Regions from separate parts of the Homo sapiens genome. Here all the other regions are linked to region 4. Evidence: promoter capture Hi-C in 16 types of primary human blood cells and fetal thymus (Javierre and others, 2016). All regions are on one chromosome and are shown on one strand. Each heading gives the region's core, a stretch centred on a gene start or on the middle of the fragment in contact. The rest is flanking DNA. Distances are from core to core; before and after follow the strand shown. Region 1 overlaps KCNQ5 (potassium voltage-gated channel subfamily Q member 5). Region 2 overlaps KCNQ5 (potassium voltage-gated channel subfamily Q member 5). Region 3 overlaps KCNQ5 (potassium voltage-gated channel subfamily Q member 5). Region 4 holds the start of KCNQ5-AS1 (KCNQ5 antisense RNA 1). Region 5 overlaps KCNQ5 (potassium voltage-gated channel subfamily Q member 5).

Evidence for each region. Contacts are between HindIII fragments. The CHiCAGO score rates a contact against its expected background, and 5 or more counts as called.
Region 1: a contact is called between a fragment that was not itself captured here and the fragment with the promoter of KCNQ5-AS1 in region 4, in 1 of 17 cell types (naive CD4 T cells). The highest score is 5.5, in naive CD4 T cells.
Region 2: a contact is called between a fragment that was not itself captured here and the fragment with the promoter of KCNQ5-AS1 in region 4, in 10 of 17 cell types (M2 macrophages, M0 macrophages, erythroblasts and 7 more). The highest score is 9.9, in M2 macrophages.
Region 3: a contact is called between a fragment that was not itself captured here and the fragment with the promoter of KCNQ5-AS1 in region 4, in 1 of 17 cell types (M2 macrophages). The highest score is 5.3, in M2 macrophages.
Region 5: a fragment that was not itself captured here is called in contact with the fragment with the promoter of KCNQ5-AS1 in region 4 in 3 of 17 cell types (M2 macrophages, erythroblasts and M1 macrophages); the score reaches 6.2 in M2 macrophages.

Annotation. Positions count from the first base shown.
Region 1 is chr6:72,693,429-72,698,035 of GRCh38, forward strand. The region is part of intron 1 of KCNQ5 (potassium voltage-gated channel subfamily Q member 5); the gene reads left to right. Among named protein-coding and RNA genes, the nearest start is that of KCNQ5-IT1, 65 kb to the left of the region's middle. The HindIII fragment of the contact is 1,351 bases long and covers 2,040-3,390 here.
Region 2 is chr6:72,648,021-72,653,015 of GRCh38, forward strand. All of the region lies in intron 1 of KCNQ5 (potassium voltage-gated channel subfamily Q member 5), which reads left to right. All of the region lies in intron 2 of KCNQ5-IT1 (KCNQ5 intronic transcript 1), which reads left to right. Among named protein-coding and RNA genes, the nearest start is that of KCNQ5-IT1, 20 kb to the left of the region's middle. The HindIII fragment of the contact is 2,125 bases long and covers 1,876-4,000 here.
Region 3 is chr6:72,710,056-72,714,612 of GRCh38, forward strand. All of the region lies in intron 1 of KCNQ5 (potassium voltage-gated channel subfamily Q member 5), which reads left to right. Among named protein-coding and RNA genes, the nearest start is that of KCNQ5-IT1, 82 kb to the left of the region's middle. The HindIII fragment of the contact is 5,761 bases long and covers 156-4,557 here.
Region 4 is chr6:73,142,149-73,147,243 of GRCh38, forward strand. KCNQ5-AS1 (KCNQ5 antisense RNA 1) reads right to left here and starts at 1,366. Exons shown (of 5, transcript NR_046621.1): 1 at 1,278-1,366. The region is part of intron 10 of KCNQ5 (potassium voltage-gated channel subfamily Q member 5); the gene reads left to right. The HindIII fragment of the contact is 1,820 bases long and covers 1,079-2,898 here.
Region 5 is chr6:72,676,330-72,681,306 of GRCh38, forward strand. The region is part of intron 1 of KCNQ5 (potassium voltage-gated channel subfamily Q member 5); the gene reads left to right. It overlaps KCNQ5-IT1 (KCNQ5 intronic transcript 1), which reads left to right. Exons shown (of 4, transcript NR_120503.1): 3 at 766-885; 4 at 2,025-2,229. Among named protein-coding and RNA genes, the nearest start is that of KCNQ5-IT1, 48 kb to the left of the region's middle. The HindIII fragment of the contact is 4,074 bases long and covers 1,301-4,977 here.

The DNA of each region.
Region 1 (4,607 bases), core at 1,465-3,964, 450 kb before region 4:
GTAGGTTCACTTCATAAGGTCTTCTTTGTTAGAAAACAAAACATAACAAAGCTGTTAGTGATGGGATTCAGGATTCTTTAGCAGGGCAAGGGAGTAAAAGTTTTTCTCTGGAGGAAAAAAAGGGTAAGATTGCAGGAAAATGAAATAAATGTTAGGGCCCAGTAAAGGAAGCCCTAATCATAGAATTGTAGGACTAGCTATTACTGGTTGTTTAAATTGTACCACCATAGGTCAAAACTCCACCTAAAACTATTCCGGAGAGGTGAATATTGTAATTGCTTATACAGAATCCTAATTATGAGCTAATAAGAAGAGGCATTAAAACTAGCACCCCACTGATTTAATTTGGAGAGAGACACTTATATTAGCTGTTTCTAAGACTTATCTTTTAATTCTTCCCAAAACCAGTTATTTCACAGTTGGCTCACAGTTTTGAAAGTAGAACTGCTAGAGTAAAGAAAGAAATTTACAGCTTCAGATGTTTAGTTTCTGAAGGTGTCAGAATCCCATATTTCTCTTTTATTTATTTTTCACTGAATTTTGGAGAACACTGATTAACTTAAAGTTTTAGATTTAATTTTTTCCTATGGGCCATTACACATGAATGCCAGCTGTCTTCTGTCAAGTAAAAACTAGGACAGTCCCATTCCAGCCCACCCTGTTTTAAGCTACAGGGTCACTGAGAATGTAGTAAGAAATTATACATTTTTTGATCATGTAAAATATGGATCCTTTTTTTTCTAGTAATTACTCTCTTCCATATTTCACAATTTATCATTTCTGTGAGGAATAGCAGCACAAGAAATATACAACATCTGTGACCCTTAGAAGGGGCCCTCAGAGAGGCCTTGCATAAAGTTGTGCCCCCCTGTGGCTGGGCAGGAAGACTTGGTCTGCAGATAAACTAGCTAGATAATGGATGGTTTCTGTTATTTTGGTCTGAAGGCTTGATATGTAAGAGATGCATCCTTACTTTGTGCCTGTCCTTTCTTCTCATGGATTGAGAGATGCAGAGGGGTTATGTGACAGAGTTAGGAGAAAAAACATTGGCCTGGGTAGGAGTTCTGGCCTCTAGTGTTGACCTGGGCCCATATAAACTCTATAGCTGATGGTGGGCAAGTCAATGAAGCTCACTGAGCCAGAATTTCCTCATCTATAAGATAAAGGTGGTTGTGCCACCCTGACTACTTCATAGAATGGCAGTGAGGACCCAAGGTAAGAATACCTGGACAGACTACCTCAAGAAATGTGTTATTGTCACGATACTGGAACTACACCTTTTTTTAAAATAATTTCAACTTTTCTTTTAGATGCAGGACATACATATGTGACTTTGTTACATGAGTATATTGCATGATGCTGAAGTTTGGGATGCAAATAATTCCACCACCCAGGTACTGAGCATAGTACCCAACAGTTTTAAAACCTTTCCCCGCTCTATTAGTTCCCTATGACTGTTGATGCCATCTTTATGGCCATCAGTACCCAATGTTTAGCTCCCACTTATAAGTCTCACGGAGAGCTTTTGTGGTATTGGTTTTTTATTTCTGAGTTAATTCACTTAGGATAATGGCCTCCAGCTGCATCTATATTGCTGCAAAGGATATGGTTTCATTCATTTTTATGGCTGTGTAGCATTCCATGATATATATACATATACCACATTTTCTTTATCCAGTCCACCAATGATGGGCACCTAGGTCAATTCTATGTCTTTGCTATTACGGTTAGTGCTGCATTGTACATATACCTCTCTATATATATTCTAGGACAACTGCCGTCAAGATATTTGTACACATAAATGACCGTTGTTGTAAAACATAGCATTGTGTGTCTATATTTCATGACTTCAATGCTGTTTCAAAAGGACCTTAGTTTTTACCTAAACTCAATAACATTTTTATTTCTATTTTTTCTTTATGATTTTTTAAGCTTACTGAAAAGTACAGAAAACAATAAATATTCCCGTACTTTCCTCTTATATAAAATGGTTCCACCATCTTGTCACATTTCCTTCAAATTTTCTTACAACAAAACAAAGCTTACAGAGGTTGCTGAAACCCCACCTCTCCATCCCATTCACCTCTTTTCCTCTCTGAATGTTATTATCTTTAAATGTTCACACAATGACAAAAATCATGTAACAACACTTCTCAGAACATATACATGCCATTTAGCTATGCATGACTGTGTTTATAATATATAATATTACGTATATTGGATTATAAATATTATGTATGATTTTATATAAATATATATGTGCAAACATACACATATACACACATACACTTGTTTTGGGAAGATTTAAACTTGTACTTAAATTGTTTCATTCAAAAATAAGGTTTTCAAGAGCTGGGCGAGGTGGCTCATGTATCTAATCCCAGCTATTCAGGAAGCTAAGATGGGAGGATAGCTTGTGCCCAGAAGCTCAAGGCCAGCCTGGGCAACATAGCAAGTCTCTGTCTCTAAAAAATAAAAAATAAAGAAAAGGTAACAATTTTTTTAAAAGTGAGCCAAAAGTAATGTTTTGAGAGATTCAGCCATATTGATGCATGCAGTTTTAGTTTATTTTAACATGAGAAGAGAATGTGGCTATTAAATTGCTGGTAAGAAGGTACAAATATCTAGTAGACCAATTTGGAAAAAACAAGTAAATTTGGGAGAATGTATATCCTGTGACCCAGCAATTTCACTTCTCCGCATGAGAAACTCTTACACATGTGCACAAAGATATCTAAAAGGTTGTTCGCAGCAATGGTTTTAATCATGAAAACCTGGAAGTAATTTAAGAGGCCCTCATTAGTAACATGGGCAAACAGTGGAATATTATACAGCAGTGAAAATAGCATTTTAATAAAATGAATTATGGTAATCAGAAAAATTGTCAAACTATTAACCACATATAAATCTACAAACAATACTTGATAAAATACGGGTGTGAAAAAATTTTTAATATTAGGCACTTTATGAAGCAAGATGTTTTCTCCTATTCATCATAATTTTTACACAATCTGTTTCCTTTTTAAATGAGTGTATTAGGCTTGCATGAGATAATTACAGAAGAATAATAAGACATTTTCAAAAAAGATGCAGGTTAATAAATGGGCAAGATCTATTTTGCAATTTTTCTCCAACATTTTTGTGTGATGCTGAGTGGCAACTCTTTATCTCTTAGTGGGCCACAATCAAAGAACTCCATAAATTAGTGTTATTTATAGGTTATCTGCTTTAAGAAAATCTTGCATATTAAAACATAGACTTAAAAATATATAGTAAGCTGGGGATTTTTTTAAATAGAGGCATACTTGGATTTATAATTGGAAACACCTTTGCATAGGAACACTCCCAGTATCTTAAATATGGCTTACTATATGAAATTTATTTTTTCAAAGCTTCAAGAATACATATCTTGCATAAAGAAGAAATATATATAGTGATAGTAGTAATTTTAGCACTAAATAATGGTTGACACTTCAGTGCCACATATTAGTAGCTCTAGTGATAAAACTCTATCAAAGATGAAGATAATCAGTTTACTGCTACCCCTTACAAAGTCTGATATTTATTTGAGGTCAATCGCGGTATCATTCTTTAATTTCATATCTTGTCATGTTCATCACCGTGAAGTTGAGGTAAAATTCTTTTAACTCATTCTGTAAAACTGTTAAGCTATAAATCAGATGTTCATTAAAGTCAAATAGAGTTTAGTTTTGTGATTTCATTCTCCTCAAGAATCATTGAGCGATCTTTTCCCTGTGAAACGGTACTTCAGTGAGGATTGATTTTGTAGCTCAGATAGGATGGTTGTTTTTACTGGTCATTCCCCATGTTCATTTATCCTAATCTTACCAATTATGCACTTCTGGGTACCAATTGAACTGTGGAAGGAGCAAGTGGGATGCAAGGGAAGAGGAAAGGGCCATATAGAAGTTATAGGACACAATAACTCATGGTGGGTCACAACTTTATTTCAAGCAGCTTCTTCTCTGAAATCTGGTATGCAAATTCTAGATTTATTCCTAGATTTAAACCTTAAATTCTAGATTTAAACCTTAAACTATATACAGTGAAAGCAGCTGATGGTGGTAAAACAAACTGTAATCCAAGATGAATTTCAGAATGAGAAAATTTAGAAGAAATTAGGATATAATTCCTTAGGTTTCTGTGAAAAATAAGCAAGGCAGGAGTGATGAAGAAATATTTGGTAATGAAAGTCAAGAGAATTACAATAAAATAAATTACTTAGGACATGAGTTTAGTTACTGCAGTTTTATGTGGATGTTTACATTTTTAACTATTTCACCTGTTATATTGTTTTATTAAAAGGGTTCCTTTTTTCAGCTTTATTGAGGTGTAATTGGTAAATGGATATGTTAATTAGCTTGATTATGGCGATTATTTCACAATGTATACATAGATCTAAATATCAATTTATATACCTTAAACATATACAATTTTTACTAAGGAAGTTCTTGGTTAAACAAAATACCTTTTCAAAGTGTATCAACTGGGGACGGTGGCTCATGCCTGTAATCCCAGTACTTTGGGAGGCTGAGGTGGGAGGATTACTTGAGTCCACTAGTTCAATACCAGCCTGGGCAGCATAG
Region 2 (4,995 bases), core at 1,688-4,187, 490 kb before region 4:
AGGGAACATGTACAATCTTGTATGAAAGTTGAGACAGATACACTGATGACTACCACACAGAGAAACCTATGGTAATTAAGTTTGATAATTATTTATAGCAGTCACATTATGTACTAAAACATAAAGAACATAAGGCCATTCACCATGGCTATTGAGATGGATGAGGCTGAGCCTTTGACGTTGGAAGAACAGTAGCACTGTACACAAGAACTGAGGATCACTTCTTGCCATCAAGACCAGGGAAGCCATCATGGAACATCGTGCAGTGGGCACAAGAGATAGAATGCCCATTGCAACATCATTGGTAATAGAAAAAAATGAAAATGTCCATAAGGATAATAATGAGTAAATAACTGGCAGTGTCATTGTATAGGAAAATACCATACAGTAATTGAAAGGAATGAATTAGAGCTACATGAATCTATATTGATATATCTAAAGCCTAATGTTGAGCCAAAAATAAAGGTGCAAAAACATTTTTATAGTGTGAGACGAACTATGCAATATTTTAAAACATGGCAACCAATACTTTTATATTACTTAGACCAGCATACATATGTTGTATAGATTTTTTTTTAATGTTTAGACTTGGTAGATACTAGGATAGCTTTTAAATATGGAGGGGGAAAAAGAGAGGAAAATGATATTAAGGAGGCATATGCAGGAGTTTCTACTGTATGTGAATATTTAAATTTTTTTAAAACCTAAGCCTGCAGAAATATAGCAAAATGGGAGATGAATACATGGGCCTTCATTTTTTTTTTTTTTTTAATTCTCAGAGGTCTTCTGTTTGAAATATCTCAGAAGAAAAAAAAAGAAAAGCCTACGTGTGTTTATGTGGAGACACATTCCAAAGAAGGGACATGTGGCTGGTTATACTCAAGGTGGTTATGTTCAGTTAATCTACCAAACTGGATGATACGGGTCAGGACCCAGTTTTAGTTCAGAGATCCTCAGTTTTATTGTGTGCTTAGTCGTATTACTCAAATGAGTGAAATTAGCTTTTGATAGAGTCAGGGTACCACTTCATGTGACCAAACAAATGCACGAAGCCTGGAGATGGCTGTGTTTGAGCACAGGCTTTGTCCTGCTCGCAGATGTGCAACTGTGCATCTATGGACAGCAGTAGAGGGCTTCTAAGAACACTGGTGGCAAATATGTCAGGAGTCCCTGGCCAATACTGTTGATGCGAAGCTAAGGTTCTAAACAGTTTTGGATCACAGCCTCTTTCAGAATCTCTACGTATTTTAAAAACCTGTGAAGCATGTCCTTAAACAGACATGCACGTGTATGTGCACATATGCATGATTACATAAATTTCCACAAGTTCATAAACCAAGGGGTTTAAGAACCTTAGTTAGGAAACTCGTGTATAGGCACATTACCTTAGATAAATTTGGTCAAATCCTCCAGTGAAGATAACTAATGGTGCAGTTTCTGTGAAAACACACAGGACTCTGAAAATGGAGCTACGGACCCAGTAAAGAGTTTGTACAACTCAGTGAGACTTCCTAAATTCATTGATTTACATACTCTACTAACCACCATCAATCTTGGCACACAAATGACCAGAATATACAGAATCTATCTTTGCTTTATTTGTTTTGTAATGGTTCTTGAATGCTTCTTTAAAGAATAAAACTACTGGACATAGAAAATTCTTCAGCTTGTACAATCATTTAGGATGGTGTAATTCAGATGAAGCATTACACGTGAAAAGGAAACTCAGTCAGATGACAAGCAAATTCTTGGCATCCAACCCTGACCACCAATGCAGAATATGACTAAGGAATAACATTTTTAGTAAAAGGTCACAGACAACATGAACTTAACACATTTTATTCACCTGGTGGCAAATAGAAATGAAATCCCAGAAGCTTGGTTCCTTGAATAAATATTGCAGCAACTGACACATCCAAATATATTTAATACAAACAGTCTCTCATTGCAAGTGCTATGTTTTTTCTGACCATTACATATTTTTACTCATTATTTACACAGCTAATGACTGTTTTATAATGTTAAACTCAACCTTCCATTTTTCTGAAATTATGTTTATATAGTTATTGGTTTGATGGAATAATTAAAATGCACTTATGTGAGATATAAACTAAGTTTCCTTTTCCTGTCTTGTTTCTTATAATTTAATCTGTATTAGGTCATTCAACTAGTAATTGTTATTCTAATAATTTCCCCTATTTTCTTTTCTTTGAACTGGCTGACTAGCTAAAGTGTATAAAAACAGTGACTCATAGACATGCATTTTGAAGTAACCAATATAAATAGGTACATTCTGGTTATATCACATTTTAGACAACTGCTTAGTCAAATGAAATGCAAAAAGAAAAACGGAAAGAAAACTATTTCAAATACCTTGAAATGTGTGCTTCAAGCTGACTTTCAGAATAGGTGCACATTTATATAGCTATGTAAAAAAGAAGGGGAAAAACACAGAAATTCCAAAATATTTTCAAACTGGCTTAGACATCTTGACACTTTACTGTTTTCCTCTGCCAGGAGAGTAAATGAGTGGTTTGCCCTCTGGGGAAAAATCCATTTAAAAGCGAAACTATTTTAAATGCATACCTTTTTACAAGAAAGAAAAGAATAGTTCTTAGTAGTGGGGGAGTGGGTAGGATATATGTATATGGAAGGGCACAGTGAAATGTATTAGTATAGGGTCTTGTTTACTTGTAAGTATTTTCTTCCTTTTTGTCATTCCTCACACATTTACATGGTTAGCACTGGTGATACAAAGAAGAAAGAAATATTCCTAGCCTTCACGTGGTTTTAGTCTAAAGGGAGAACACTCAGGAAAAACAGTGTGCATCAACCTAGAGATGCCATGAGAATGAAATGTGCAGTAACTAATCCATGGAGGAGAGGATGGTCAGAGGGGGTCGTGTTTAAATTGGGTCGATTAAGGTTGCAAAGGGTCAGCCTATTTTAAGAGGGCAGGTGGGAAGGAATAGGAACAGAGGCCAAATGCAGGAGATAATATTTTGTAAACTGTTTTGTAAATGATAAATTGTACCTTCTGTGTGGAGGTAAAGTATGAGGGGAGATTTCTGCCTTCTTCCTATCTTGTTCTTATATATTTGTTCATATATTTAACATAGCTACCCCCTTATGGTATTATAATTACCTGATTACCTTTTAATCTCATCTGTGAAGTCCCTAAGTGTAGGAGCAGTACTTTATCCATCTCTTTTCCCTAGTGCCTAACAGGTCCAGACAGCTGGTAGATACAAAATGAAGACTCTTTTAGTTGAACTGAGTGAATGAAAGGATGGACAGATGGATGCATAGATAGATACTCTGTAATTACAAAGAAATGTACTTGGGCTATGACTCCTTCAGTGGAAAAAACAACATAGCAGAAAAAATGCAATACATGGGGTGTGGTAGAATTGTAAAAATATTTTTACTAGAAATACTCTTGGACTTTATGACAAATTAGAAATTATTTCCTTCTATGCCTGGCCCTTCCAAAATTTCACATTCATGCATACACTAGTATACTTGTTAAATTGTTGGACAAAAATCTCCTTCGATTTAGAAGTCTATTATTTCGTTGAGATGACAGTTTTTAACTAGTAATGAAAGTTTTCCAATGAAAACACTCTAATTTTGCAATGTGTACCTCAATTTTGTGAAAATAAACGGCTGAGTATACTGGAACAATCTTAATTCTGTTGAACTCCTTAAAATGATATTACATATCAAAGAGTACACCTTTAAACTACTAATGGAGGAAAATAGAATAACTCAAGGAGAGCAAGCAGACAGCTGGAATTTTTGGGAAATGTCTGTGGTATTTGGGTTTATTTTTAAGGGAAAGAAAAATTTCCCATTAAATTTTATAACACAATAACACTTTTAAAACTTATACTCAAAAAGAATCTTTATAATGCTGTTGTAAAACTCAGATTATATTTTATTCATGAATTACAGATTTCTTTTTTGATGACGGTGGTTAGGGTAAGAAGCGGCTTTTATAAGCTTTATTTATCTCTTTTAATTACCTCCTTCTCCTGTCTCAATGCTCACACTTACACTCACTTTAAAAAATTTTTATCTTTCATGGGATCTATATCTAAATAACACCACATCATATGTAAATTAAGAAACATTCCAAATATTCTCCGGGACATTGAAAGGAAATCAAGCAAAACATTCTGTAATGTGTAGGCAACTTTAAAAGTGCTTGAGGCAGAAGCAAAAAAAAAAAAAAAAAGTGAGAGAAAGAGGCTTTCTAGCCTGTGTCTTTTTTAGTTAGATGTTTCAGAAGATGAAGAAATTTTAATTATGTGCTTCCTTAGAGTGAGATATTAATTCCTCTGAATCATTCTCTCCAATTTTGAGTCCCACTCTCATTTTTCTCTCCCTCTTCTTTTCTCCTGGTTTTTCCCCCTCCCTCTTTACCTTTTCTCCTCCCTCTTTTTCCTCCCTCCCCTTTCCTTCTCCCACAAAAAGCCAGAATTGCTTGGTGGTAATTCCCTAGAATTGAGCAGGATTGAACTGGGGGTCACTCTGGCTTTGTACTGTTCCCTTTCTTATCTAACCTGAATATCCTTGGATCTGTAAGACTTTTTCTGATCCATATCACAGCCTTTTTCTCTCCTCACCGTTGCCAGTGGGATTTCTCGTGGGCTTTTGGAGAGGTAGAAGGCATACTTGTGAATGTCAAAAGAGCTGTATTCCTGTATCCTGTTTCAACCCTGAGGAGAGGCACTGTGCTAGTGAGGAAAGAACACCCAATCCTAGTCAAAGGACTGAGTTCAATTCAGCCTCACAAGAGGCTCTAAGTATGATCTTAGACAAGGAAACTTCAGGCCCCAGTTTTCCCATCTAGAAAATGAGAGTGGTTAGAACTATATCACACTGAGGATTATGTGAATTTATATATACGTATATAAAGCCGTGCACCCAAATGCTGTTTACAGCATTCTGTGATGAATTCCCTATTTCAGTTGGTACCATTTATTCACAGAC
Region 3 (4,557 bases), core at 1,786-4,285, 430 kb before region 4:
AGAATGGTAACAGATAAGGTCAGTGAGATAGGAAAAGGCCTGGTCTTCTACATGGCAAACAGTGCTTGTTATTACAAATGGTGAAAGTGCACTGTAACAAATACAAGATGTTAAAAGAATGGACAACTGGAAGCCTACCCAAGGGAATCAGGGGAAGCTTCTGTTAAGAACTGAATTGTGTCCCCCCAAAATACAAAATTTATTTAACTCTCAATGTAGCAATCAGAAATCAATTAATAAGCTGGCATTGGTAAGTTCTTACCATTCAGTAATTACTTTGAATGTAAATGGATTAAATTATCCAATCAAAAGGCATAGAGTGGATGACTGGATTAAAAAAATTTAAAAAGCAAAACAAAACAAGACCCAACTGTATGCTGCCTACAAGAGACTAATTTCACCTTAAAATACACTCAGACTGAAAGTGCAGGAATGGGATAAATTATTACATGCCAATGGAAATAAAAAGAGAAGAGGGGTAGCTATACTTATTTCAGACAAAATAGACTTTGGGTCAAAAACTGTAAAAAGAGACAAAGAAGGCTATTATGTGGTGATAAAAGCGTCAGTTCATTAAGAAAATGTAGCAATTGTAAATACATATGCACCCAACATTGGAGCATCTAAATATGTAAAGCAGACATGAAGAGATTTGAAGGGAGACATAGACTGCAACAAAATAATAGTGGGGGACATCAATACCCCCACTTTTAACATTGGACATATCATTCAGACATAAAGTCAATAAGGAAACATTGGACTTGAATTATACTTTGGGCCAAATGGACCTAACAGACATATACAGAACATTCTACCCAACAGCAACAGGATATACATTCTTCTGAAGTATACACAGAGCATTCTGCAGAACAGATACTAGGTTAGGCCACAAAACAAGATCAAAATTAAGATCCAAATCATATTGAATATCTTTTCTGACCATAGTAGTAGGAAGCTAGAAATCAATAAGAGAAAGGATCATGGAAAATTAGCAAATATGTGGAAATTAATTCCCCATGTGACTGTGTTTGGAAATAGGGACTTTAAAGAAGTAACTAAGGTAAAATGAGGTTGTAAGAGTGGGGCCTTAATCCAATAGGACTGGTGTCCTCCTTATCAGAAGAAGAGACATTAAGAATAAATGTACACAGAGAAAAGACCATGTGAGTACACAGCAAGAAGTAGCCATTTACAAACCAAGCAGAGAGGCCTCAGGAGAAACCAACCCTGCCAACACCATGATCTTGGACTCCCAGCCTTCAGAAATGTGAGAAATTAAATTTCTGTTGTTTAAGCTACCCAGTCTGTGCCATTTTGTTATGGCAGCAGTAGCAGACTGATAAAAAAGAGTTAACCCCTTGAAAAGAAGCATAAAGGAACAACATGTGAAAAGCACTTGGTGCATTTGAGAATCTGAAAGAAAGCCGAAGCTAGAGATGACACATGAGAGTGGTGCCTGGGGAGATGAGAGAGGTAGAGGGAAGCCAAATCATACAAGGTCTGGTGGACTCTGCGAAGGATTTTGGCCTTTATCCTAAAGGGCTGACATGATTTGATCTGCATTTTTAAAATCATCTGACTGTGGAGAATTGGAGTAGGGAAAGTGTAGGTGCAGGGAGACCTATCCAAAGGTCCCAGGTGATAAATTACGCTAGATTTGGGAAGGTGACAGTGGAGTTGGAGAGAAGCGGATTGATCTTTAAGAATGAATTTGTTGGGACAAGGATTTCTTCTACATTTCTGGGTTTTTCAGATGGAAGGAAGTTGGTGCCATTTTAGAAGTGGAAAACACTGGACTCACAATTTTATCCCCAACTTGACAGTTCCATTTTGGCCATGCTGAATTTGAGATGCTTCTGAAACATCCAAGTGGAGAATCAGTCAGTGAATGAATCTGGAGCTCAGAGAACAGATGGACTGGAAATATAAACTTGGAGGTCAAAGCATATGTGTAGTAATCAAAATATGCTACAGTTTCAGTTCTCTGTGGACAGGGATTTTATCTGTTTTGTTCACTGATGTATTCAAATGCATGGAACAGTGCTGGTATACAGGAGGTACTGAATACATGTTTGTTTTAGGAATGAATGAATGAATGAAGAATGGATAGATTACCTAGGAAAGAGTTTGACATAAAATGAGAAACAGATCTAGAATAAAACCCTGGGGAACACCTACATTTATAGGCTTGGAAGAAGAGAATGAACTTACAAAGAAATAGCAAAGGAATTGTCACAGACAGAAATTCATAGAGTCCAAGGTTTAAGAAGCCAGGGGAAGAAGGCGCTTCAAGAAGGAAAGAGAATATACACTCTGAAGTGAGTAGCATGCAGCAGCAAGCCTAGCATATGAATGAACACTTCCGAATCCTAAAAGCAAGACCAGCTTTAAAATACTTAAATCTGTTTGTCACTGTTGTCAATCTTTGAATCTAATAAGATTTAATTTATTTTGTGTAAGATTTACCTCAGTTAATAGCCGCTTGGAACTACCTTTGAAAGCACATCTCTGACACATTCTCAGCCTGGGTGGATATACGATAACATCATCATTCTTTGTATTAAATTATGACCATAATGACAGTTGGGGAAAAATGTCAGCAACTAATAGAACACCAATAGGTTTTCTTGACAAGCTCACTTGGAGTATCCTCTCTGGATGAAAGCTCAATAATTTTTTGCTTTACTACCTCCTCCTGTTACTTCACTCTGTACTCCCTTATACTTCTGCATAAGAAAAACTTTATTAACTTCATGCATAACCACATAATTTGAGTCATAATTAAGATTCAGATGAGCAGTAAAACAATTTTATATCACCACCTGTATATACCTTCTAAAAATAGATGTTTATTAGTTACTTAGTTTTGGTCAGTCTTCCCTTGGAAGATAATCTACGTGGCAACAAAAACTTTCTCTCTCCTGTTTGCTGCATTCCCAGACCCAAAACTGTGCCTGATGTATTTTAGGTGCTCAGTAATATGTACATAATAAATAAATGAATACATGCTTAAAGTCGCACGGCAGGAGGTAGATATAAAAATGCTGGTTGGGTTTGCAGCTTAGTCAGAGATGCAATTCCTAATATCAGGTTACACATTTGAAATCCAAGCAAACATCTTGGCTTGCTAACATCTCTGGCTGACTTTTAAGCCCCAGCCCCATTTCGGATGTTTCCACATGAAAGCCAAACAGGCATTTTGAACTCCAGGCGTCCCAAACGTGACTCTTTCCTTTTCTTCCTGCACCACCCTTCCCCAGCCGTCATAAGTTCGCCTCTGAAAGGCTTTTCCTATCTTTGAGAGAAGCATCACCATCCCATCAACCTGTTCATCTGAGTTACAAAAATTTTCTACCTTCATCAGAAGTCCAACCAATCACCAAATTCTATTAATTTGGCTTCTACAATTTTTTTTCATATCCACCTTCCAAATCATCTTGGTTCATAGAATGATTTGCGTTTTCCCAGCAGTTGCAGTGATCTCCTAATAGTTCTGGTGCCTCTGGCCTCTCTCTTCTCCAGTCAATATTCCATATTGTCAGCCAAGATTTGCTAAAATAAGAAACTGATACAAATCTTCATTAACCAACAAGAGAACATCAGTTAAGTTCCTTTTATGCATCTATTCTAGGCTAAAGGAATAAGTGCTTGAAGCCCACAGAGGGTTCTTTGTCTTAGAGAGGGGCATGGAGACTAGACAGGCTTATGTCACTGCCCTTCTCAGGCTTCTCCTTTACAGTAGAGTAAAACTTAACCACTTAAGATGATATTCCCAGACCTTTAAGTGCAGACTCTCTTGCCTTTCTAGCTTCATCCCGTATCATTTCCAAAATCCTAAATACAGTCTACCTGGATCCTGTGTTGTGTTGAGAGAGTTATGCACTTCCATCCGGAGTTATGCCTTTTTCATCTCATTTCCCTAACTGGAATGAGTTTCCCTTTCCCCTACGTGCAAGATAAAATGCCATTCATTCTTTGAATCTCAACTCAAATGTTAGCTCACCTATGTGTCCTTACCCATTACACAGACTTCATTTATTTCTCTGTAAGAACAATTACAACTGCTGTGGAGCAGATTCTGAGCAACATAGAGACATATGTTCCTAGTGAGTCCATTTGTTGTTGAAGGCCTCTTCTTACTAAGTCTTAATCTCTACCTAATTAACTATCTTAGGTATTAAGTTCATATCAACTGCTATGTTTGTAAGAATTTCCTAGATTCCATACTTTATGCTCTCTAAAGCATTGCCCATCATTGTGCAATGCTGCAATACCTGCTTTGTTCTTTATTTGTAAAGTTCTTGTCTCTGATCTGTAGCAATGGAGGAGCTTGTCATAACCCTTTTGGTAGAAAGGCTCATACCATCTTTGGAGTTCAAGATGGAAATGGATCCTCCACTAAACTGAAAAAAAAAAGCCTTTATAACACATCCCATGCAATATTGTTAAATACTCTGCTTTTCCTTTTCTCTCTGATATGGCTTAGGAACAGTTGCTTATATAATTCATGCTTAATATTGTGTGGGTTACAAAAGGACATGAAAATATCTTTTTATC
Region 4 (5,095 bases), core at 116-2,615:
TGCAGTCTTTTATGACATAAGCTCAGAAGTGTTATGCCATCGCTTCTTTCATGTGTAAGTGGTCACAAAGACCAACCCTGTACAGTGTAGGCAGGGACTATACAGGGGGGTAATACCAGGAGATGAGGGCCACTGGGGACCATGTTAGAGTCAGGCTACCACAAATGCCTTCAGATAGATTATGTCTTTTAAATTGCAGATTTCAACCAGTCCCTATTGTCTTTCCAGGAACCCAAACCACCAATTCCCCATTCCTTTCGACCTCTCCGTTACCTACCTGCCTTTAACGACATGGGTTTATAACTTCTGGTCTAACCATTTTATGTCCAGTATCCTTTGTATTATATCTCAAAAAAAAAAAAAAATCCTGGCCTCAACCTATAGCTACGCAATTATATTCCACTCTTAGTGCAGACTCTCAAAAGGAATATTAACAAAATATTGAGTATGTGATTACTGCAGCAACAAGTTAAATAAAATGAGGAGGCCAGGTGCGATGGTTCATGCCTGTAATCCCAGCACTTTGGGAGGCTGAGGGGGATGGATCACCTGAGGTCAGGAGTTCGAGACCAGCCTGGTCAACATGGTGAAACCCTGTCTCTACTAAAAATACAAAAATTAGCCAGGCGTGGTGGCGGGCACCTGTAATCCCAGCTACTCAGGAGGCTGAGGCAGGAGAATCACTTGAATCCAGGAAGAGGAGGTTGCAGTGAGCTGAGATTGCACCCTTGCACTCCAGCCTGGGCGACAAGAGCAAGACTCCATCTCGAAAATAAATAAATAAATAAATTGAGGGAGCAGGACATGAACTAGTCAGTTGCAAAACCAAAGTGTCATAACTTCTAACGCAGCTCTCTTTCTTGTACAATGTATGGCCCCTCTTCAGCTTTTCAAGAGGTTGAAGATATGTTCTTGGTTGCTTCAAAGGGCAGAAGCAGAACTAAAAGGTGTGTGATACCAATATTTAGTTCAATATAATGGCAGCTTAGCACTTAGAGACTCCACAGCAATTGAGTGGATTCCATAATTGGAAGCATTCAAATCAAAGTTGGATGATCAACAGTCAGGAATTTCTGGAAGCTTAAGGAGATCAAACCAGAAAACCTCTAAGAAATTTTCTTCCAAATCTGAGTTTTTATAATCTGCTCTTCTGGACCAATGCAAAGTATCTTCCTTAGCCATTAACTCGTATCCTCACTAGCAATTCTATACTAAGAAATAGAAGAGGAAAGCAAGGATTGGCTGAGGAATGCCAGGAGTGAGTTTTCTGTCCTTACCCTAGTTTCACGTCTCTTTGATACCGAGAAAAGTGCTACCCGCTGCTTCTTGCCTCTCATTCCTCCCACTGTTTCTTTTCCACTTTCACTGTCAGCCATAGTCCTTTCTGTCCTAAGAAGTGTATCAGGTGTGTCCCACCCACCATTGTGAGGTTTATGTGTGTGCTCCATAGCGGCTCATTCTTAGAACTTGAATAAGCCCTCCACTGGATTTCAATTCATATCAGAAGGTATTTGAGGGCTGCTACTCAGAGCTAGCATGTTTCTGGGCATTTAGAAGGCAGGGAGGAGGCGTGACAACTGTCACCCCAAAGAACTTACTGTTTGTCTGTAAGTTTTACCACCCCAGCCCACCTCAGTTACAGTATTGATTGGCACTGAGGGGAACAAAAGGCACCTTCCTCATTCTTCAGACTTCATAGTTTTCAGAAATAACCTGTGGGTGACGTCCAAAATTCGCACAAAATAAGCACAAAATTAACCATTACACAAATCACAGAATTTAGCCCATATTTAAGAGAAGCACTTTTCAGCTGCATGGTGATTTTTCCTTCATATATCTCAAATTATTTCCTTCAAAGTCACACTTAGTTGTCTGCTGCATAAACAGAAACCAATATGACACAATTTTAAAATTATATTTAATCGCTTTCATGGTGTGCTCTACTTGGTAAAGAAGGGGGGAAACAAGGTTAAGTAAAGGCCAGGATCCTTTTTCTGCAATGGATGACTGACATGGGAAAGAGATGAGTTACCCAGGCTTTGCTTTTTGCTACCTGCAGTATAAAACTCCCTGACATTGTCCCAAATTGCTTTTACAGGTATTTTATTTTCAACATCTAATTTGTTCGGCTTTTCTTCCCTTGCCATCTTTTTCTTCTTTTGCCATGTATAATGCATAACAACAATTTCTGAACTCCAAAAGCATAGAAACCTCAGAATAACATTACCTGGGAAAAATTAATCTCTCTACCTCCAGCTACCAAGAGAATCATTTGCACATGAAACCCTGAGATTTGCGTCTTTCATTAATCTAATGCAGTAGCAATTGTTATACCACATCGTTCTATTGGAATTGATGACTAATCATTCCCAAAACTCTTTTGAAACTATTGTTCCCATAATTTTGTGTTTTGATTGAAAAATGTCATGACCCTATATCTCTTCATGTTATCTGTTGCATAGCTAACCCTCTCCCTCAGATTTAGTGGCTTAAAACAGCAACCATTTGTTTAGCCCACAATTCTGTTAGGCAGTTCTTCTGGTCTTAAGTGAACTGACTCATGCTCTGTGTTCAGCTGCTGTGTTGGCTGGTGCTGACTGGACTAAGGTGGTCTCAGTTAGAATTACTGCTCTTTGCTCATGTGGTCTCTCATCCTCCAGCAGGCTGGGCTGGTTCACATGGTGGTGGTGGGTTCCCAAGAGCAGTACATTGATATCTGAAGGCCTCTTGAAGTTCAGGCTCAACCTATCACAGTATAATGTCCACTATGTCCTGTTGGTCAAAGCAAATGGCAAGGACAGCCCACATGCAAGAGACAGAGAAAGAGATTCCACCTCTTCATGTGAGAAGCTGCAAGTGTCGTGGCCAGTATTGCAATCTACCATCCCAGCCATTTAAAGCTTATTTGCTTTTAGTATTTTCAACATCCTGTTGGTTCTATGAAGACAGTGTCAGTGTCTAATTGACTTTTTTATTTCTCCCTGTAGTATCCTTCACTCAAAGAGCCTAAGAAAGAAAAGGAAAATAGCATTGTTAGCACCTCATGTATCGAGGCATTGGCTAGACATTTTCTATGAATTGGCTCATTTAATACACACATAGCCATTTTGCAGATAAGGAAATTGAGACTCAGAAAATGTAAATAACTTGCCCACATAATTCAGTCTAAATGCCAAAACTGGGGTTTGAAGTTGCACTTAGGTCTAAGTTCAAAGCTTTTTATGTTCTACCATGCATGCTGCTTAGCATGTTTTCTTTCATATAATTCATGCTGCTAATGAAACAGTATAAACCAGCTGTATGTTAACTGCTAGTGAAATGATTTATTGTCTTCTTTTTCAGTAAATATGGCAAGTCTGCTCAATTTATTCCCTTTATCATTGCATACACTACAAATATTCTCTCCCTATACCTTCACATGTCAATTAAGGTATGCAACAGTAATTTCCATTTTTTTTAAACAATGCTTATGTTACCATCTCTAGACAAGTTAGTCCAGATGATTTTGGGGTTAACATGTTGGCATTTCCTGGCACTATTACTGCTAGCTGAATAAGAGTTGAAAGTTGGGGAAAAATTTACCAGATCTGTATTAGTTTTTTCGCACACTGCTATAAAGAACTACCTGAGACTGGGTGATTTATAAAGAAAAGTTTAATTGACTCACAGTTCCACAACCTGTACAGGAAGCACGCCTGGGATGCCTCAAGAAACTTACAGTCATGTCAGAAGAGCGAAAGGGAAGGAAGCGTGTCTTTACGTGGTAGCAGAAGAGAAAGAGACAGAGAGAATGAGAAAGTGAGAGTGAAGGGGGAAGTGCCACACTTTTAAACCATAATCCACCCCCATGATCCATTCACCTCCCACCCAGTCCCTCCCCCAACATTGGGAATAACAACTCAACATGAGATTTGGGTGGGGATACAGAGCGAAACCATATCAAGATCTATTTAGAATTCTCCAGCAGATTTGATTAACAATATAGATTTGTGATTCTGCAATTTGTAGGGTCATTATAAAACATGGCTGCCTTGATTGCAATCAGATATCTCTGAATATGGTTCAAAGGAAACAGATCTCGTTCTTGTGGAGATAGGATTACATAACTCCCTCTCAGTCATTTTGCCATTGATTCAGAATGTTTCTCCCTAAGATGAAGTACTGTTTTAGCTTAGAATGGTAACAGCAATTCATCACCAGGCACAGTGGCTCACACCTGTGATCCCCACACTTTGGGAGGCCCAGGCCTGTGGATCACTTGAGCCCAGGAGTTAGAGACTAGCCTAGGCAACATGGCAAAACCCCATCTCTACAAAAAATGTAAAAATTAGCTGGGCATGGTGGCACAGGCCTATAGCCCCAGCCACTTGGGAGGCTGAGAAATGGGAGGATCTTTTGAGCCCAGGAGGTTGAGGCTGCAGTGAGCCATGATCGCATCACTGCACTCCATCCTGGGCAACAGAACAAGTCCCTGTCTCAAAAAAAAAAAAAAAAAAAAAAAAAAAGCAATTCATTGATCTCATCTAGTTTGACTAGTTCAATTATACATGTGAGAAGGCTATCTGAGATGATGTCAGGTGTGGAGCAGTGACTATCCCAGTGATCTGAATGTGATTGACCACTTGGCTTCACCAGGATTATCTCACTGTTTGGTTCTAATAAAGGCAGTCATTCTAGTCTATGAGTTTACCTCCCTTTTGCTACAAACACTTCAGTGATATACTATTGAAACTATAAAAATCCATAAAAATTGGTTTTTGTATGTGAGTTTTAAAAAATTGTTTTCACCAGGCTGTGAGTTTTATGTCTTTGTTTTCTATTGGGATACTAATAGTGCTATGACTATAGTATGTTCTCAAGGAAATTCTTATGAAAATTGAATTAATCCGACACAGTGCATGGTTTTGGAGTAAAACAGAACTTGTTTTAAATCCTAGTTCCCCCACTAGGTTGGGTGAGATGAGACAAACGACTTAACCTCACTGCCACTTTAATTTGTTCTCTCTCTCTCTTTAGGGTGGTAGAAATGATACCTACCTAATAGGGTTACGTGAGTAATAATAAGATATAATGTGTGTAAAATTCTTGTACAATG
Region 5 (4,977 bases), core at 2,088-4,587, 460 kb before region 4:
TTTTTATGTCACAAAGCAGCAGAATAAAATTTCCATCATAAAGTATTTTACTCTATTATAACCTCAATTTTACTGAGTCAGAATATGCTCAGGGCTGACACAGGAGGGAGAAGATGTTTCCGTTGTATGGTAAGTCTGAGAAGAAGCAGATTGGTGTCTCTGTTCCCAGTTTTTGAAGTGAATTTCTGGAGTAAGCATCCTAAATTGAGAAAGAACATAAATATTTCTGTATGGAAATGTTAGAAAACAAGATTCTGGTAATTAGTATGAAATTTTACTATTCATCCCTTTAGATTGTCGTGGTTGCATTAATTGACCAACATTGCTTTTTAAAAATGCTGTCACTTCTCCTTGTTTATATCTATTTTTGCTTTTTTCCATACATTTGACATTTTCTTTAAAATCTGGGCATATAAAATGCTGATTAAAAATATTTTTATGTGGAGTTGAAATCAATGTGTCAAGATTCTTCATTGTATTTTCCTTCAAAAAAGGCTGCTGTAACATAGGACCAAATGTTAAGGGTGCTTGCTGGCATAACTCCAAAGCAGTGTTTTTGGATAACAGGAGTCTTTAATTCTTAGGTATAATTGATATTTTTAGTTAGTACTTTTTTCAGCTTTGTTTTTGGTTTGATTTGGGGTATATGTATGTATGTATGTTTCTATAACAAGTTTTGAATTTTTTTGAAGACTTATCTTCTTAGGCCACCAAAGCAAATTAGTTCAGTAATTATAGTCTCAGTTTACCTTGTTTCCCTCTCAGTGGGTCAACCAAAACCGCATGGCGTACTACTCTCTGAAGCCTCTACTACCCTGCTCCTCCGTGTTGACATGTGGTCAGGCAAGCCAGGACTTACTCACATCAGCTACATCAGTTACTGGGGTAAGAAACTCTGGGCTTTTCAGATACTGTCCTCCAGAAACACCAGCACCAGCCTTTGGGTTTAAGATCACCTGGTGAGATTGATTATCTTTAGGGAATGGTGCAGATGGGATAGTTTCTAGACAATTTGGGAACCTCAGAAATGGGAGTACTTATATTAGAATGACATAAAATAACTTTTTGCCCCAGGGATCTTGCAGTAAAGATTATCATCACAGTTGGCCATACCATGAACTTTTCTAAGTTATTTAAATTTACCTTGAAATGTTATCAGTGTCTGCTGTCACAGAGAATAAATGTATCTGGTATTAACATTTTACTCATGCTTGCCTTGCCTTTACTAAATCTTATCTTGTAATTGAAGAACTTGACTATTTTTAATTCTGAATACAATATGCCTCAGAATAAGGTTTTAAGCTTTAGGTAAGGTAAAGTTTAACTTTAGTTTGTATCTGTGACACCTAACACAATACTAAGGAATTCAACTGAATGAGAAATTTATTCTAGGCATCCACCATGTTCAAAACATACTAAGTACCTAGGAATTACTTATAGAATAGATGTAACTCTATTGAACTATAAATCAAATATCAACATACAAAGTTGAGTGAGCAGACTTGTTTGCCTCTTTTCATTTTTTGTTACACTGATGGATACCACATGTCTTAGGTGATTGGGGGTGCGGTGGCTAGTAATTACTGCCATTATTGTCTGTGATACAGCAGTGTTCAGATAGCAGCTATTCTGCTTATAATCAGATGAACAAGATATTATGTTTGGCTTTGTTTATGGAAAAAAAGAAATTTTATTAAATTGTGGTTAGAGGCCTGTTAGCATAAAGGATGAATGGTTTCTTGGAATTACAACTTGAATATTTTGAGAGAAACAAATGAAAAGTATCTCACTGTAGGGCTGAATTGGTTTGTGACCTTGCTTCTCTAGCTGAAATCTATTGACTCTCTCAGAAGTATTGCTAGGAGAAGAAATAATCCTATAAAAGGACATTAAGCAATGCTAAGAAAAAGATGATGATAATAATAATGCTTTCAGCTCACCATGTGCCAAACATCATATTAAACACTTTAAGTGCATTATTACATTGAATTCTCACAACCCTACACCATATCCTCATTTTACAGATGGAGAAAATTGAAGCCTAGAAAGATCAAGAAACTTTCTCCAGGCCATAAATAGAGGAATCAGGATTCAAATCAGATAGACCCCAGGGCTTGTTCTCTTCAACACCACATTACCCTACATTATTATTCAATTATTAAATAAAACCTTGCATTAGTGGCATTTCCAAATGCATAACAAAAAAATAAAAAAAAGTAACACTGGTCATATGTATCGTATTTTTTATAAAAATTACATTATTCCATTTGTTTTTCTGGAAATTTTTATTGCATTGAGTTGCTAGAATACCATAATATAAAACTTGGCATTTTCTCAATAAATGTGTATGATGCTGTAGTAGGTGTTTAAGATGTCTTTGGAACAACATTTAATTTGTAAGATCTTTTTTATTAATGTGCTGAATTAAGTAATTATTTCTTTCCCACTTTGGGTATGTTCCATATTTGATTTTCTGCTGCTTTCAAGAAGCCATACAATAGAATTCTTAATCCCGTTTTGACTCAACTTCTTTCCAAAAACTAAAATAAAAATAAAAGACATGAAGCACTTCTTTTATCTTATTAGAAAAGCCAATAAAATGAAAGAATCTTCAAAGCAATTTTTTCAAAATATAAAATTGGCAGAGTATTTTGTTTATGAAACTATGGAAACCAAGTTGAGATTTATAAACAAGGACTTCAAAACTTGTTTTGCTAATGCAGTGTCACTCAAGAATTCACTGAACCTCACAAGGTAAACTTGCAGAGAATGTTTGTTTTGGGAAATGATGATGATGACAGGCAAGAATTTTCTAGGTAGAAAATTGAATTTTAATTCAGCTACCATACAATTCACTCTTTTAAAGTATGAAAGTCAGCCATCCCATTACAGGGTATATACCCAAAGGACTATAAATCATGCTGCTATAAAGACACATGCACACGTATGTTTATTGCGACACTATTCACAATAGCAAAGACTTGGAACCAACCCAAATGTCCAACAAAGATAGACTGGATTAAGAAAATGTGGCACATATACACCATGGAATACTATACAGCCATAAAAAATGATGAGTTCATGTCCTTTGCATGGACATGGATGAAATTGGAAATCATCATTCTCAGTAAAGTATCGCAAGAACAAAAAACCAAACACCGCATATTCTCACTCATAGGTGGGAATTGAACAATGAGAACACATGGACACAGGAAGGGGAACATCACACTCTGGGGACTGTTGTGGGGTGGGGGGAGGGGAGAGGGATAGTTTTAGGAGATATACCTAATGCTAAATGATGAGTTAATGGGTGCAGCACACCAGCATGGCACATGTATACACATGTAACTAACCTGCACATTGTACACATGCACCCTAAAACTTAAAGTATAATAATAATAAAATAAAAATAATAAAGTATGAAAGTCAGCCAGGCATGGTGGCTCACGTCTGTAATCCCCACTTTGGGAGGCTGAGGTGGGCAGATCGCCCTAGGTCAGGAGTTCGAGACCAGCCTGGGCAACATGATGAAACCCTGTCTCTACTAAAATTACAAAAATTAGCTGGATGTAGTAGTGCATGCCTGCAATCCCAGCTACTCGGGAGGCTGAGGCAGGAGAATAGCTTGAACACAGGAGACAGAGGTTGCAGTGAGCCAAGATCGTGCCACTGCACTCCAGCCTGGGCTGGGTGACAGAGCAAGGCTCCATCTCAAAAATAAAAAAAATTTTAAAAAGTATAAAATTCAGTGGGTTTTAGGATATCCACAGAGCTAAACAACCATTATCACTATGGGATTCCGAAATATTTTTATTATTCTAAAAAAGAAGCCTCCTTGTCCATAAGCAGTACTCTCCATCCCCTACCACCACCCCTTTCCTAGGTAACCTTCTATCCATTTTTTATCTCTATGTATTTGCCTATTCTGGACATTTGGTATAAATGGAATCATGTAATATGTGGCCCTTTGTGCCTTTTCTTTCACTTAATGTTTTCAAGGTACATTCATGGTGTAGCATGTATGAATATTTCATTTCTTTTTACTGCTAAATAATATTCAGTTGTGTGGATATACCACAGTTTGTTTATCCACCAATCAGTTAATGTGTGTTTGGATCAGCTTATTTTGTTTATACTAAAATTCTGAAGAGTAGGAGCAGGAATACCATCCATGCTAGTTTCCAACTGGAGAATGATAACACTCTTGCCTTCTCTCTCAAATTAAACAAAATCACAGCCAATGAAATGAAGATACCTTCAGAAAGAAAAACCTTGACTTATTTAGGCAATAGATAACCATTTTTTTACTCGTTAAAATGCTTCAGTAAGTTAATTTTGCTTCTCATTACTTTGCCTAGCATTTGCTAGTGTAAATTCATTGTCTAGAACTCCCCCCAAAATCCACATTTACAAAAATATAAGAGGAAATATCCCCTTTCAATTAAGTATAAAAATAACCAAGGTAGTGCTATGAAACTAAAAGTATAAATTAGCATTATGTTTCCTCATTGGCTTTGTTGGATTAGTCCTAAATAACCCAAAAGGAAACATAAATTTCAATTTGTAGGGAGTTTTGTGATCTGATACTTTTAAGTGGGTGTTTAGCAAGTGGCAACAGAAGAAAGAGCACTAGACTGCAATTACTTACTGCAAATCAGAAGCTGCTGGAAACACTGCTTACTAATTGTATACCAAAGCACTTGAGTAAAAAAGTGTGGAAGGGCTATGAAAGCCCTGCTTCTCCTGTTACTTACTTCTGTAAACCAGGACACAAGTTGAGTGAGCTGTGCATTTATTGGAGCTCTCTTATAGAGCACGCAGATCCTGCATGTTTGGAAGTTACAACATTGAGGACGTGAGAAGAAAGCAATGGGGGCTTTCTGTGTATGTGAGAATAAAGCAACGGGGGCTTGCTGTGTGATGATGCTAGTTTGTAACTACTATTATGATAACAATAACAATGATGATAAGAGATAA